Linked DNA regions of Homo sapiens: region 2 is linked to region 1. Evidence: promoter capture Hi-C in 16 types of primary human blood cells and fetal thymus (Javierre and others, 2016). All regions are on one chromosome and are shown on one strand. The core of a region is centred on a gene start or on the middle of the fragment in contact, and the rest is flanking DNA. Distances in the headings are between cores, read along the strand shown.

Region 1 (3,182 bases), core at 424-2,923:
GTGGCAAACCTTGGTGCCATTCTTAGAGGATAGTGACCCCTTTGAGTAACTGATGAACCAAATCCATTTTTTTGTTTTTTTTTTTGAGACACAGTTTCGCTCTCGTTGCCCAGCTGGAGTGCAGTGGCACGATCTCGACTCACTGCAACCTCCGCCTGCTGGGTTCAAGCGATTCTCCTGCCTCAGCCTCCCGAGAAGCTGGGATTACAGGCGCCCGCCACCACGCCCAGCTAATTTTTTATATTTTTAGTAGAGACAGGGTTCCACCAGTTGGCCAGGCTGGTCTCGAACTCCTGACCGCAGGTGATCCGCCCACCTCAGCCTCCCAAAGTGCTGGGATTACAGGCGTGAGCCACCGCGCCCGGCCACCAAATCCATTTTGAGGGGCCAGTGACAAGTTCTTTCAGAGGGAGATAACCCTACATCACTTTTTTTTTTCAGAGCCAATGACACCATACCTTAGAACAATTATTAAAAAAGTATAACCTTAGATCCATATTCTGTAGGAAACTGTGACCTACCCTGCTCCATTCCATTTTTGTTAAAGGAGACACACCAAGCCATGTATTTTAAAACATGGACTATGGACTTGGTTTGAAGGATATGCTGACTCCCAATGTCTTTATATCTAAAAGGCAGTAACTATTAATTCTCACCATTGGCAGTACAGCTCAACAAGATTTAGGGTGGGTAATGATGCCAGGTCTTGGTTTTAATAGGGAAGATGATCTGAGTACCAGGTTTGGAAAGCCTGGCCCTATTCTTTGGGGACAAAACACAGTAACCTCAAAGCCCTGCTTCTAAGTGATATTCGCTCCAAATCCCCATCTTCTGAAGGACAGGGAATGCAGATCCCTCTTTTTCGGGGTTGGTCTTATTCTTGTTCTCTTAGGAGACAATAACCCTAGATCCCCATTTGCAAGCGACTGTGACCTCTGATCCAATATTATAATGAATAGCAACATCAGATACCTGTTCTTAAGGCTCAAGGACCCAAGACCTCAATAATGGAAGAACAGAGACTTGTAACCCGTTTCTTTAAGTGTTAGTAATTCTGATCCACGAGTAATTCTGATCTCCAAGAGATGGTAACCCCAAGACTCCTTTTCCTGGGAGGAAGAGGGCTCGGATCCCCGGTATGGGGAGGCACAGTGACCTCGAGCTCCTATCTAAGCACATGAAAGAATCTGATGGATGTCTGAGGAGCTTTGGGAACCCTAATCACCACCCTACACGGGCGCCACTAGTACTCACGGCCCAGCTTCACCCCGGGCGGCGGGAAGCTAGTGCCTGCGCCGGGGCCTCCGCTGCCTCCTCCGCCGCTGCCGCCGGGTCCACCCCCGGAGCTCGAGGCCCCGACGCCCCCACCCATGGCCCCGACAGATGCCTTTCCGCCGCCGGTGCCGCCTGGGCCGGAGGCCGAGCCTCCGGGGCCGCCGCCGCCTCCTCCGCCTCCGCCGCCGGGCTCCGCGAACGAGCTAGTCCGCGCCCTGCCCGAGCCCCCAGGGCCGCCTCCCGAAGGCCCGCCGCCGCTCATGGCGCCGAGCACAGGCCCAGGCTGCGGGGCTCGGGCTGCCCGGGCTGCCCCAGCCGCCGCCGCTGCCGCCGCCTCCCCCGGGCCCTGGCCTCTTCCAGGCCGCGCCGCTCTGGCTTGGGCTCCGGCTCCGGCCCAGCGCCCGCCGCGGGGCACGCCGGGAGATGCAGTCCGGCTGTCGTCCGCGCCGCCGTCACCGCCCTCGGCCCGCACAGAGAGCCGCGTGGCACGCCGGGAAATGAAGTCCACAAAAGCCTCAGAGTAGACCGCGGGAATGATGGGCGGGAATGACGGGTCACGCTGTACGTCGGGAAATGGAGTCCAGGGTAATCTGTCAGCCGACTGTACGACGGGGAGCCCTGAAGCACTTTAGGAAGCAGAGAGCCTGATGCACGCTGGGAAACGGAGTCCACTCACTCAGTCTATTAGCTGTGTATGCCTCCCAGAGCTCGGTGCGCTCTGGGAAATTGAGTCGGCCCGCGTGAACCTGCGGGTCTCGGGCCGTGAGGCAAGCCGGGAAATGGAGTCGTCGCCACGCCCTCACCGCATTGCAGGTGTAAAGCGATTTTTAAAGCACGCCGGGAAATGGAGTCTCAGGTGGTTTTTAAGCCCCAGGTGGATACTGCAGTTCCGGAGATGGGCGAGGAAATGGAGTAGGTTTACGCGCTCCTCTTTCCAGGTACGCTGGGCCGCAGTCCCTGCCGGGAAGTGTAGTCAGCACCAAGGCCTCAGTGCAGTTGCCACAGCGAGCCCTGGTGTGTTCTGGGAAATGGAGTTCGACGTATCCTCCCCATTGACTGAGGGGGCGGGATCGCCCATGAGCTCCAAGCATGCTGGGGAATAGTCCAGACCTGACCCTCTGTGAGGCCAGTCTGCGGAGGCTTGCCGGGAAGCGAAGTCCAATGGCCACCATCAGGGGCGTGTGAACGAAAGGTTAGAGACTGCGGCAGTTCCCTGGAGAGACTTAAAAGTGTTTCAGCGCCTCCTTCCTCGCCCCCAGGTCCTTCTTTAAGAAAGAGCCGAGGTCGATCAAGGACTGCTGGAAAATGGATCCAAGCACCTTTAAGTTCCAGGTGACCATAGATCAGGAAAGAAAAAATGTCCCCTCTCTAACCGCAACTCTGCAAAGATTCGGGAAACAAAGTTCCCGGCGGTTTCTCAGAACACTAACTAGTCTTCGGATACAGTCTAGCTTTTCCTAGCAATGTGGTTCGCACCAGGAAGCTGAATGGAGCATTAAAAAGACGGAAATGTCATTTCTGGGCCTGGCGCTGTGGCTCAGGCTGGGCGCCAGTAGCTCACGCCTGTAATCCTAGCACTTTGGGAGGCCGAGGCTGGCGGATCATCCGAGGTCAGGAGTTCGAGACCAGCCTGGCCAACATAGCGAAACCCCCGTCTCTACTAAAAGTACAAAAATTAGCCGGGTGTGGTGGCGGGCGCCTGTAATACCAGCTACTCAGGAGGCTGAAGCAGGAGAATCGCTTGAACCCGGGAGGCATAGGTTGCAGTGAGCCGAGATCGCGCCACTGCACTCCAGTCTGGGCGAAAAGAGTGAGACTCCGTCTCAAAAAAAAAAAAATCCTGTCTTGAACCACCATTCAGTTTTCAGTTTTTGGTTTGTTTTGAGACAGGGTCTCGCTCTGCCGCC
Region 2 (3,182 bases), core at 487-2,986, 7.4 Mb after region 1:
TCACGAACCCCGCCCCAGCCCGCCCCGCCCCGCGCCGGGGCCGGAGCCGCAGCCCGAGCGGCGGGGTAAGATGGCGGCGGCAGTCCGGGCCGCGGGGCTCGGGCCTATTGGGGTGGGCGGGGCGGAGTTGGGTCGCTAGTTGTCCCGGGGTCCTCCCCACAAGCCACGGGTCCTAGAGGGCTTCTCGGGGCGGTCTCGGGCCCGGCAGCTGCGGCGAAACCTGGCGCCGAGAGGGGGGCCTTCTCAGGGCCCCGGGACGCATCCGTGGGTTCCTGGGGGCGTCTATGGGGCGTCTCCGAGAGGACTTGGGGCGTCTCTGGGCCTAGACCGAGCCTAAGGCCTGCCCTCCATCACACAGCTGGCCTGGATCGTGTCTGTAGACACTGTAGATTGTCTTTTTGGGCTGACCGGAGGCTAGGGTCTGGTTAGAGGGTTCTGGGGCCATCTTGAGATCTTGAGATATGTCCCAGGGGTGAAGGAGGGTCTGCAAGACCTGAAGAGTATCTTCAGAGCCATCTAGAGGCCTGGGGTATGTCTTTTAGGGCTGGAAAGTGTCTGCATGGGCTGGCCTGAGGATGCAACTGGTCTGCATAAGTCTGGGGCCATTTATCAGGCCTAGAAGGAGTGTTCAAGGGCTAAGAAGTCATTTAGGGCCCCCTAGGGGGTTGGGTTATGCCCACCAGGGAAGGGCGCCAAATATTGAGATGTACTGAGGGTCTGGGGTCTCCAAGGTATGGGTAGTGTCTAATAATGGGTGACAGGAGGCTGGGGGCAGTTAGAAGGACCTGGAACCATCTAGATGGCTTTAATGTGACTGCAGGAATGCAGTTTTGATGCCTGGAGCAAATTCGAATGCCTTTGGGGTCAGAGCAGCTTGTGGCGAATAATAATACGGAAAGAGAATGAGGAAATTTTGCCCAGCTTAGATATACTTGCCCTTCAGACAGTAATTCAAATGAAAAATGTTTTAAGATTCTGCATTACCCTGGGGGTTATTGAGAGAGTTAGAATTAATCTACATTAGTCTGGAAGAGTCTGGAGGGTCATCTAGACCCACTATTACAGTGCTTTTCAAGGGGAAACCTGGGCCATGTTGACCGTGATCTGCATTAAGATACATTTTTTCATTGAGACCTGGTACAGACAGTCATAATGTATTTAACATTATATAACATAATGTATTAACATTAACTCACCTTCCACGAATTGACATTTCCACTTACTACTTGTGCTGTGCTGTGAAGAACTATTTTGTTCTATTTACTTTTTAAAACAAGCTATTTGTGAAGCACTAAACTGGTATATGACCCTGTTGTTGGGGAAACCACTGATCCAGATAGGACCTAGCAGTATCTGCAGAGCATTCTTCTGTTCAGAAGATCTCAGTAGCTGAGGGTGTGTCTGCGAAGCCTGGTGCTTTCTAAATGAGCAAGCAAGCATCTTTGTATACTGCAGAGGGTTTGGGGATCCCTCAGCCTGTAGTCAGCAGATGTTGATTAAGCTTCTGATATGTGACAGTCACTGTTGTAGGTAGCATGTGCTTCCCCGGGAGGTGCTGGAGAGCAGTTCCAGGGCCAGGAACTGGGGCTGAGCTTATTGAGTATTGGTGAAAGAGGCTGGGATGTAATAGACTATCAGGGTTGGGTGTGTCTTAGGAAGTTAGGAATTAGGTGGAGCTGGGAGGCTGAATATGGAGGCTTGGCATGGTTTGAAAATCTATATGGGATCTAGAACAGGACCAGGGCCTTGTCTTTGCAGGCATGCTGTGGGGGAAGCGAGGAGACAGATGTAGGGGAAACCTGGGCGTTAAGGGCTAATAGTGTCATTCCTCTTCATCCGTATTGAGCACTTGAGGTGCTCTAAATGTGTGGCAGAAGTCAGGCTTTGAGTATTCACAGCCATTCTCTGAGATAGATGCTCCTATTTCGTGCATTTACAATTAAGCATACTGAGTTGTGGGTTAGGGATTTTGAAGCTTTCTAGGAATTTTGAGATTGGATATTGTCTTATGAGTAGCAGATTTGACAGTCATGGGGAAGCTTACAGCTGAAATATTCATATTTTTCTGAAGCCCTAATCAAGACATCCACCTGTTTGATGGATGATCTTTCAACTGCCTGACTGGGGAATCATATCAAAGAATTTCCATGACATTGCAAAGGCTTTGTGCAGATGGCGATAGGTAAATGCCTCCTGTGAAGTTTTCCTTCGGCATGTCTTTCTGAAGTTTAGCGTTTTCATTTTAAAAATGGCATACTGGTTTTGCAGATCACTCAATGAAGTTTCCAACTTAGGTGTATAAATACAATTTGGGGGTGGTCCTCACCATCGAGGACAGTTGATGCTCTAGGAAGCCGTGTGGTGTTTAAGGCATGGTGTTGAATATTGCCCAGCACATTGGCCTTGGGAAAGGTGGGTTTATAGGACTGTGGAACACACCCTTTGAAATCACAGTGCAGCACACACAAAAAACCTTGGTGTTGGCTTTGCCTCTTAGGAGGCCAGGGAATGAGGTCTTGAAGTTTGGATAGGTTGTTGGGGAAGCTGCGGGAATTGAGGAGTGAGATGTTAAAAGCGGAGGCCAGGGAGGCCTCCCTTTGACATAAGAGGCACCTGAGACCCAGAAAAAAGGAAGAGAATTGCTCCTAGTCCCTGGGGTGTCTGTGCTGGGTCCAGCGCCCACCCAAGCACAGGGTGGAGTGGGAGGAGGTGGAGGAGAGGAGGGGTGCCAGAGGGGATGCTGAGGGAGATAGTGTGGGGCCCTTGAGGTCTTCATGTCTATCCTCTACTTCCATCCTTTCTCCCGGGACCTCCACTCCAAACTCTCCCCCCTGGACCCCCAGGTGACCATGGAGGAAGAAGATGAGTCTCGAGGGAAGACAGAGGAGTCGGGGGAGGATCGGGGCGATGGTCCGCCAGACAGAGACCCCACGCTTTCTCCTTCTGCCTTTATCCTGGTGAGGCTGCTGGGCTCCTGGCACTGAGGGATGGAGGAGCTGGGCATCCACACTCCAGGGGCCTGACTCCAGGGCCTGAGGCAGGGGCGCTGGACTCTTGGCTCCCTTGAAGCACTTGAGTCTAGCTGTCAGTGTCTGGGATGTCTGTCTCCCAAGGGGCAGAGGTTGCAAAGCATCTGCCTGGGTCCTCTGACGCTTGGTTCTTCCCCCCTTCCCCAGCGAGCC

What was found. Contacts are between HindIII fragments. The CHiCAGO score rates a contact against its expected background, and 5 or more counts as called.
Region 2: a fragment that was not itself captured here is called in contact with the fragment with the promoter of GSK3A in region 1 in 1 of 17 cell types (non-activated CD4 T cells); the score reaches 6.1 in non-activated CD4 T cells.

The regions. Positions count from the first base shown.
Region 1 is chr19:42,240,929-42,244,110 of GRCh38, forward strand. It overlaps GSK3A (glycogen synthase kinase 3 alpha), which reads right to left and starts at 1,674. Exons shown (of 11, transcript NM_019884.3): 1 at 1,255-1,674. The coding sequence starts at 1,537. RefSeq lists silencers at 1,216-1,495, 1,526-1,735 and enhancers at 2,026-2,235, 2,165-2,959, 2,296-2,345, 2,960-3,182. The HindIII fragment of the contact is 12,371 bases long and covers 1-3,182 here.
Region 2 is chr19:49,642,178-49,645,359 of GRCh38, forward strand. It overlaps SCAF1 (SR-related CTD associated factor 1), which reads left to right and starts at 32. Exons shown (of 11, transcript NM_021228.3): 1 at 32-65; 2 at 2,844-2,957; 3 at 3,177-3,182. The coding sequence starts at 2,850. RefSeq lists a silencer at 1-242. The HindIII fragment of the contact is 474 bases long and covers 1,500-1,973 here.